Linked DNA regions of Homo sapiens: region 2 is linked to region 1. Evidence: promoter capture Hi-C in 16 types of primary human blood cells and fetal thymus (Javierre and others, 2016). All regions are on one chromosome and are shown on one strand. The core of a region is centred on a gene start or on the middle of the fragment in contact, and the rest is flanking DNA. Distances in the headings are between cores, read along the strand shown.

Evidence for each region. Contacts are between HindIII fragments. The CHiCAGO score rates a contact against its expected background, and 5 or more counts as called.
Region 2: a contact is called between a fragment that was not itself captured here and the fragment with the promoter of LCA5L in region 1, in 1 of 17 cell types (naive CD8 T cells). The highest score is 5.0, in naive CD8 T cells.

The regions. Positions count from the first base shown.
Region 1 is chr21:39,443,854-39,447,494 of GRCh38, reverse strand. LCA5L (lebercilin LCA5 like) reads left to right here and starts at 1,717. Exons shown (of 11, transcript NM_152505.4): 1 at 1,717-1,770; 2 at 3,294-3,360. The region is part of intron 8 of GET1-SH3BGR (GET1-SH3BGR readthrough); the gene reads right to left. It overlaps MIR6508 (microRNA 6508), which reads right to left and starts at 485; the gene lies at 426-485. It also overlaps a transcript of SH3BGR not described here. RefSeq lists a silencer at 1,547-1,806. The HindIII fragment of the contact is 3,319 bases long and covers 623-3,641 here.
Region 2 is chr21:39,238,127-39,242,169 of GRCh38, reverse strand. It overlaps BRWD1 (bromodomain and WD repeat domain containing 1), which reads left to right. Exons shown (of 41, transcript NM_033656.4): 22 at 3,597-3,691. Among named protein-coding and RNA genes, the nearest start is that of PSMG1, 57 kb to the right of the region's middle. The HindIII fragment of the contact is 2,775 bases long and covers 62-2,836 here.

The sequences.
Region 1 (3,641 bases), core at 468-2,967:
GTGGTGAGCTGGGATGGCGCCACTGCATTCCAGCCTGAGCGATAGAGTGATACGTCTCAAAAAAAAAAAAAAAAAAAAGCAAAAGCGAAAGCAAAGAAAGATTCAAGGGCAGATTTGCAGTGACTTATCATGTCTACAGACTGGGAAAAGCTGGTAGAAAAGAGGAGGAAACCATTCTCAGGAAACTCTACCTTTCAATTCCTCCAGTCATGAGCTCCAGGGTTGGATGCTCCCGCAATGGCAAAACTCCGCTCTCGTTACTGTCATGGGGCCACCACCACCCACCAAGCATCAGCCCATCTTTCCATAATGTCAAGTCTAGAGTGACATTTGTCTAATGTTTGCCTACCTGGAGATGTTGCCCCGCCCACCACCACCAGCAAAAACAACCGGCACCCATCTTATACGGATAATTCCCTACCTAAGGAGTTCTAGAAATGCATGGCCCACCAAAACTCAGGGTGGGTCATGCATTTCTAGAGGAAGAAATGGTGATATGGAGAGAAAGCTTGTCCTAACCCACTTCTACCAAAGTAGGATTAAAGTCAATTTGAAAAAAAACACCCGTTTCTCCTTTTATATAAAAACCAAATGCAGAAACTATAGAGAAATGTAATAAGCTTGACTCTACACAAATACCAAAATACACTGTAAACAAAATTAAAGGTAACTGACAAATTGAGGAAATATTTGCAACGTATATCACAAGCCAAGTTTTCAAGCATCAAAAGTCCTTACAAAACCCATTTTTACAAAGATGAATGTCAAGTTTTAAAATGGACAAAAGACAGGAAAATGCAAATCACACAATAAGGACAAATGGCACTCAAGATATGGGAAAAAGTCTATTCTTCCTACTAAAAAGGAAGTGAATACAATTAAAGATGCCAATTTTTGACAATAAAATGGGCAAAAAAATTTTAAGAAAAAAGAGAATTTCCAATGCGGGCCAAGTATCGGGACACTTACTGGAAGGCAGTTTCCCTCTACCTTTAGAAAGCCTCAAAGTGAGCATATGCTTTGGCCCTGCAACCTCGCTTGTAGGAATTTATCCTAAGGAAACAGTCAGGGGTGACCTCAAAGATTCATCTGCAAGGATATTCAACATGGCTTTGATGCAGGAAAAAAAGTAAATAAATAAAAGGAAACAATGTAAGTCTTCCTAAATTATGCCAAATTCCTATGCTGTCATTAAAAAACATCTATAACTCCATCATCTAGGTGATTTTGACTTTTGCTTTGGACTTGCCTGTACATTTCTAAATTCTCTATGCCAAACATGCATTGTTTTGTCATCAGATTTTGTTTTACAAAAAAAAAAAAAAAATCGTCTTTATGACAAGGGGTTAATAGGGGAACTGTGCTTCCCAGGAATTGACCAGGCGTCTACACCCACCTACTGACTCAAGTTACCTAAGACTGACAGAGCCTTAAGAGGTCAGGAGAGCGCCAGAGCGCGTGACAGGCTCCCTCGTCTCGGTGCGGCCACGCGGGAAGGCAGGGTCCCGGGCGCCGAACAGGGACGGCAGGAGGATCGTTTACAGACGTCTACACAAGAAACTCACTTCCCGTCACCGAAGACAAACGCGAGGCCACACTGACCTCCAGGCCCAAGACGCCCCTCCCCGCCGCGGCTCCTGCTGCCCGAGTGCGCATGCGCGCGCCCAGCCCCCGCAGGCCGGCGCTTCCCAGGAGGCCCCGCGCGCGGGTTTCCATGGGGACGCGCCGGCGCTGCGGCGTTGGCGCAGTCGTGGGAACAGCGCGGAGCAGGTAACGGCCCCGCTGCTGCCGTCGTCCCCCTCAGCCGGTTACCCTGTTACAGCCCCAGCTCTGGGCCCTTCCGGACCCTCCTGCTACGCTCTTTCTGGGCTTCCAGTATCGCCGGTCACTCAGTCCTCGCCCCTGCCTGCCTCGCTGGCGCCCCGCCGTTTCCTCCTCGCGGCACAGTTTGCCAAGGAACAGCTACCCCGGCTCGGCAGTGACCGGGCGCCCCGGCGACACACGTACTCTCAGGCCCGCTGGGCAGGGGGACGGCCTGGGCCGAGGTGACCTAGCGCTCCCGGGGCCGCGCCTGGGTCTGGCGAGGGGGCGGAGGCCGATCTCACCGCCGCCCCACCGAGGGAACTTTGGGGTTTTTCTATCTGAATCTTCTATCTGACCTCCGATTTTGCCTCTGCTTACTTGCTGTTTTGCTTTGGATTAGTTTTTCTTTCTAACCTTAGCGCTGGCATCTCCCTATCTCGTAGGAATCTAAATCTTTTGAAATGTCTTCTCTGTCTGTGTTTGTCCCCCACTCACCCAGCCTCGGGGCTCTTTATCCACACCCTCCCCTCAGCGTGTTAACGTTTCGTTGCCACACTTAAGCCAACGGTTAACTTTTTTCAGAGACCAGTTTTCACGGCTGAATGTGAGCTTGAGCCTTTTTTCTGTCTACACTCAATCCCTAGATGAACTCATCCAGTCGCCTGTACTCAGAGCCTATCTGAATTCCAGTGAGCCCCAAGTGTGCATTCCCAGCCCTCGCCCCTCCCCTGAACACCAGATCCCTGCATTTAGCTGCCTGCCACATCCCTACTTGGATGTCTACGGCATCTCAAACACAGCTCGTCCAAGATAGCGCTCAATAATTCCCCAAGCCAAGCCTGTCCTCCCACAATCTTAATCCATCATAGTTGCTGGAAATTCCATCCTCCAGTTGCCCGAGTCTTGCATCCTGTTTGAGTCCTGTTTTTCTCTTCCTCACCTTCAGTCTGTCAGCACTGCCTTCAAAATGCACCCAGAATAGATTCACAATTCTACCATTTCTCTCAACCGCCACTGTCACCACCTTGGTCCAGGCCCCCATCATCTGGTGCGTGGATTATTTTACTTGCTTCCTAATTGGTTTCCCTGAGTCTGCCCCTCCCCCACTTGAGCATGACAGTCTTAATGGTATTTCCCCGTTCTCTGTTATTTCGTATGAGTAAGTTTTTTAAAGGATTATATAAATTACAATTTCCTTATATAAATTACAACTTCCATAGGTAAAAGTGCAGTATTTTCAGTATGTATTTTGCAAATTGCAACTTTTAAACCGGGTCAGCAAGGCCATATAAGCATCCTGCTAACAAGCTAAAAATGTAAAGACACCCCTTAGCTTTGTTAGGTATAAATATGACAGTGCCCCTGGAACAGAACTATGGCAAGAGCTTTACAAGGGACTGTCCTGAAGAACAAAAGAACCCAGAGCCTTCTTCCCAGCGCAAAGACAGGAATCATGTAGGAGTTTAAGCTCTTCCTTTTTTATTTTTTAGAGAAGCACCAAAAGAGGCAAACTGAGATGCAGACAAATGATCATCCGTATGCTGATCATTTTGAATAGTAAGTACCTGGGTGCTGATACCGCGATCAATGTGACAGGTCCCTGCCCTCAAGGAGCTAAGGCCCCTAGCCAATCTCTCTTTTTTTGTTGTTTTTTTTTTTTTTAAGACAGAGCCTTACTCTGTCGGCCAGGCTGGAGTGCAGTGGCAAGATCTCGGCTCACTGCAACCTCCATCTCTGGGCTCAAGCAATTCTCCTGCCTCGGCCTGAGTAGCTGGGATTACAGGTGTACGCCACCATGCCCAGCTAATTTTTGTATTTTTAGTAGAGATGGGGTTTCA
Region 2 (4,043 bases), core at 200-2,699, 210 kb after region 1:
TGGTGCAAGAGGCCTAGCTTTTAGCCTGTGTTGGCTTTCACCATGCTTTCCTTACTAAGCTTAATCATTTCTACATTGCGAGTTAAAGTAAGATATGTGTGACTCTTTCATTTTTGAATACTTAGAAGCTATTGTATGGTTATTAGTAGGTCTAATTGCAATATTGTATCTCAGGGAATAGACTGGAGCAGTCAGAACACACATGGTATTCATTAAGTGTGCTATCTTATATGAGTATTGTTCCTAGTGCCCCCAAAACAATTAGAATAGTAACATCAAAGATCATTAATCACAAATCACAGTAACAGATACAATAAAAATGAAAAAGTTTGAAATATGGTAATTACTAAAATGTGACATAGAGACAAGAATGAGCTCATGCTGTTTAAAAATGGCACCAATAAATTTACTGGGTTCAGGGTTGTCACAAAACTTCAATTTGTAAAAAACACAACTGTGAAGCACAATAAAGTAAAGCACGATAAAAAGTATGCCTGTGTATACATATTATATGCAGACACATGTATTTTTTTGTCTGTATATCTGTCATTGTTATGCACGACTTCACATTATTCTGATTTTAATGATACCCGTTTGTACTTCCCTTCTGTACAGAGAAACCTGGCTCCTGTTATTTATTTAGATTTTTAAATCTTTTTTTTTTTTTTTTTTTTTTTTTTTTTTTTTTTTTTTTTTACTTTGGAGATGGAATCTTGCTCTGTTGCCCAGGCTGGAGTGCAGTGGCACAGTCTTGGCTCACTGCTACCTTCACCTCCTGGGTTCAAGCGATTCTCCTGCCTCAGCCTCCCAAGTAGCAGGGATTACAGGCATGCATCACCACACCCGGCTAATTTTTTTATGTTTTTGGTAGAGACAGGGTTTCACCATGTTGGCCATGCTGGTCTTGAACTCCTGACCTCAAGTGATCTGCCCGACTTGGTCTCCCAAAATGCTGGGATTACAGGCGTGAGCCACCATGCCCAGCCCTGTTATTTATCATAAACTTATTTGTTTAATTCTACATACACAGAAAGTAGTTTAAGATTTACTAGGCTGGGTGGCTGAAGGCTGTCTCTACAAAAAATACAAAAAAAAAAAAAAATTAGCTGGGCGTGGTGGCGGGTGCCTGTAATCCCAGCTACTTGGGAGGCTGAGACAGGAGAATCGTTTGAACCCACGAAGTGGAGGTTGCAGTGAGCCGAGACAGTGCCACTGCCCTCCAGCCTGGGTGACAGAGTGAAACTCTGTCTCAAAAAACAAAAAAAAAAAGATTTACTTACCCTGTGGTAAAAACCCTAGTATGTAGAGTTTAGTTATTTACTTACTGTTCTTTTTTTGTCGTTAACCAAATTGTATTTAGTACAAATATTTCAAAAGTTATTTATCCTTCTTATACAAAATACAGCATACTACAGATAGTCCCACACTTGACATTTTTCACTTAAAATATCTTTGAGATCACTCCATATGATCCTTATTTGTTTTAAGAGTTATGTAGTACTTTATGGCATGATTGAAACAGTTTATTGAATCGTTCTCCTGGTTATGGGCAGTTAGGTTGTTTCCAATGTTTACATTATAAATAATGCTACAGTGAATAATATTTTGTATACGTATTTTTGTACTGCTAGAAGTGTCATTTGGGGATATATTTATTTGATTTTTTCTTTTTCTTAGGGACAGGGTCTTGCCCTATGGCCCAGGCTGGAGTGCAGTGGTGCAATCATAGCTCACTGCAACCTCGAACTCCTAGGCTCAAGTGATTTCCCAGCTTCTGACTCTTGAGTAGCTAGGACTACAGGCATGTGCTACCATGCCCAGTTAATTTTTTAACAAATTTATAATGACATGTATCCACCATTATAATATCACACAGAATGATTTTACTGCCCTAAAAATCCTCTGTGCTCCATCTGTTCATCTTTCTCTTCCCAACAGCCCCTGACAATCACTGATTTTTTGTCTTCATAGTTTTATCTTTGTAGAATGCCATGTAATTGGAATCATATAGCTAGTAGCCTTTGCAGATTGGCTTCGTTCATTTATTAATATGCATTTACATTTCCTACATGCCTTCTCATGGCTTGATTTTTTTGTTTGTTTGTTTGTTTTTTTTAGCACAGAATAATATTTCATTGTCTGGATATACCATAGTTTTATCAGTTTACCTACTGAAGGATGTGTTGGTTGCTTCCAAGATTTGGCCATTATAAAGTTGGTATAAACATCTGGGTGTAGGTTTTTGTGCGGACATAATTTTTCACCTCATTTGGGTAAACATCAAGTGTGATTGCTGGATCTTATTATGTTTAGTTTTATAAGAAACTGCTAAACTGTCTTCCAAAGTAGCTGTACCATTTTGCATTCCTATCAGTAATGAATGAGAGTTCCTGCTGATCCACACCCTTGTTAAAAAATTCTTTCCAGCATCATCTGTAGATTCACAATCCCAAACAAAATCCCAGCAAATTAATTTTACTGACAAACTGATTTTTCGAGTTTATATAGAGAGGAAGAAGATCCAGTATAGCCAGCACAACACTGAAGAAGAATAAAACTGAAAGACTGACACTCTACTTGGCATTAAGACTTACTGTAAATCTGCAGTTTTCAAGACAGTGATGCTGGTGAAAGAACAGATCAATGGAACAACATAAAGAGCCCAGAAACAGACTGACACAAATATATTCAAACGATCTTTGGCAAAGGAGCAAAGAGAACTTGGTGGACAAATTTATCATTTTCAGCCAGTGGTAGAATAACTGGACATTCACATACAAAATAAATCCTAGACACCAGTCTTTCACAAAAATTAACTCAAAATGAATCATAAGCTTAATGTAAATGTAAAACAAAAAAACCATAAAACTTCTAGAAGATAACAAAGGGCAAAATCTATGTGTCCATGAGTGTGGCATTGACCTTTTTAGATACAATATCAAAAGCACAATCATGAAAGAAAAAATATAAAAAATTTGGACTACACTGAAATGAAAACTGCTTTGGGAAAGACACTATTAAAAGAATGAAAAGATAAGCCACAAACCAGGATAAAATATTAGTAAAACTTATATCTGATAAATGACTTATATTCACAATATACAAAGAACTCTTAAAACCAAGCAATAAGAAGGCAGCCTAATTTAAAAATGGGCAGAAGATCTAACAGACACCTCACCAAAGAAGATAAACAGATGACAAATAACCATATGAAAAGCTACCAAAATATGTCACAGGGAATTGAAAACTAGAACAACAATTAGATACATCTATTAGAATAGCTAAAGTCCAAAATGGAAAACATTTACATTGACTTTTTATTAACTTTACTCAGAATGGCCTGTTGTATCACTTTCTTTGCTAATGGTGGTAGTGTTAAATCTTACGGATGTTCTCTTTTTGTCTTATGCTTTGATAAGAAAGGGATGTAGTGAAGAAGTTTGCTTTTTAAGTTTATCTGATTATATATTTACTGATTACTGTTCATTTTTCTTAGATGATTTAATCTTACTGGGGAGGATTGTGTACAGCTTTTTTCTGGACATGTGTTGTTTAACTTCAGGGATCAAGATTTTTTTCCCCCCTTCACAAATTAGGAGACTTCCTGTGATCAGAGTGAAGGTTCTGGTTCTTCAGAAGAGGATGAATGGAGAAGTGACAGAAAAAGTGAGAGTTACAGCGAAAGTTCAAGGTATCTGTTTTTATTGTTGTGGTCTTTTAAGCATTTTAGTCATAGTCTTGGATGGAATCATACTTGAATTTTATTCAAGAGGCAAGAATTTGCAACTGTGGAACAGTTTTTAATACACTTAAAAGGAGACAAAAACTAGATCCAACAGCTGTTCCTATAGGAGTATTTCAGGAGTTTTTTTTTTTTTTTTTTTGACTTTAAGCAGTTGACCCAGCACTGTTGAACATGCATACTGAAAATATAAATTTAATCTTGGTTGCACTTAAAAAGACTAGTATCTAAAGTATGTGTGGTAAAACCACAGTATATTCATTATTATTGCATGTGTTGAATTTTTGTTAGTTTTGAGATC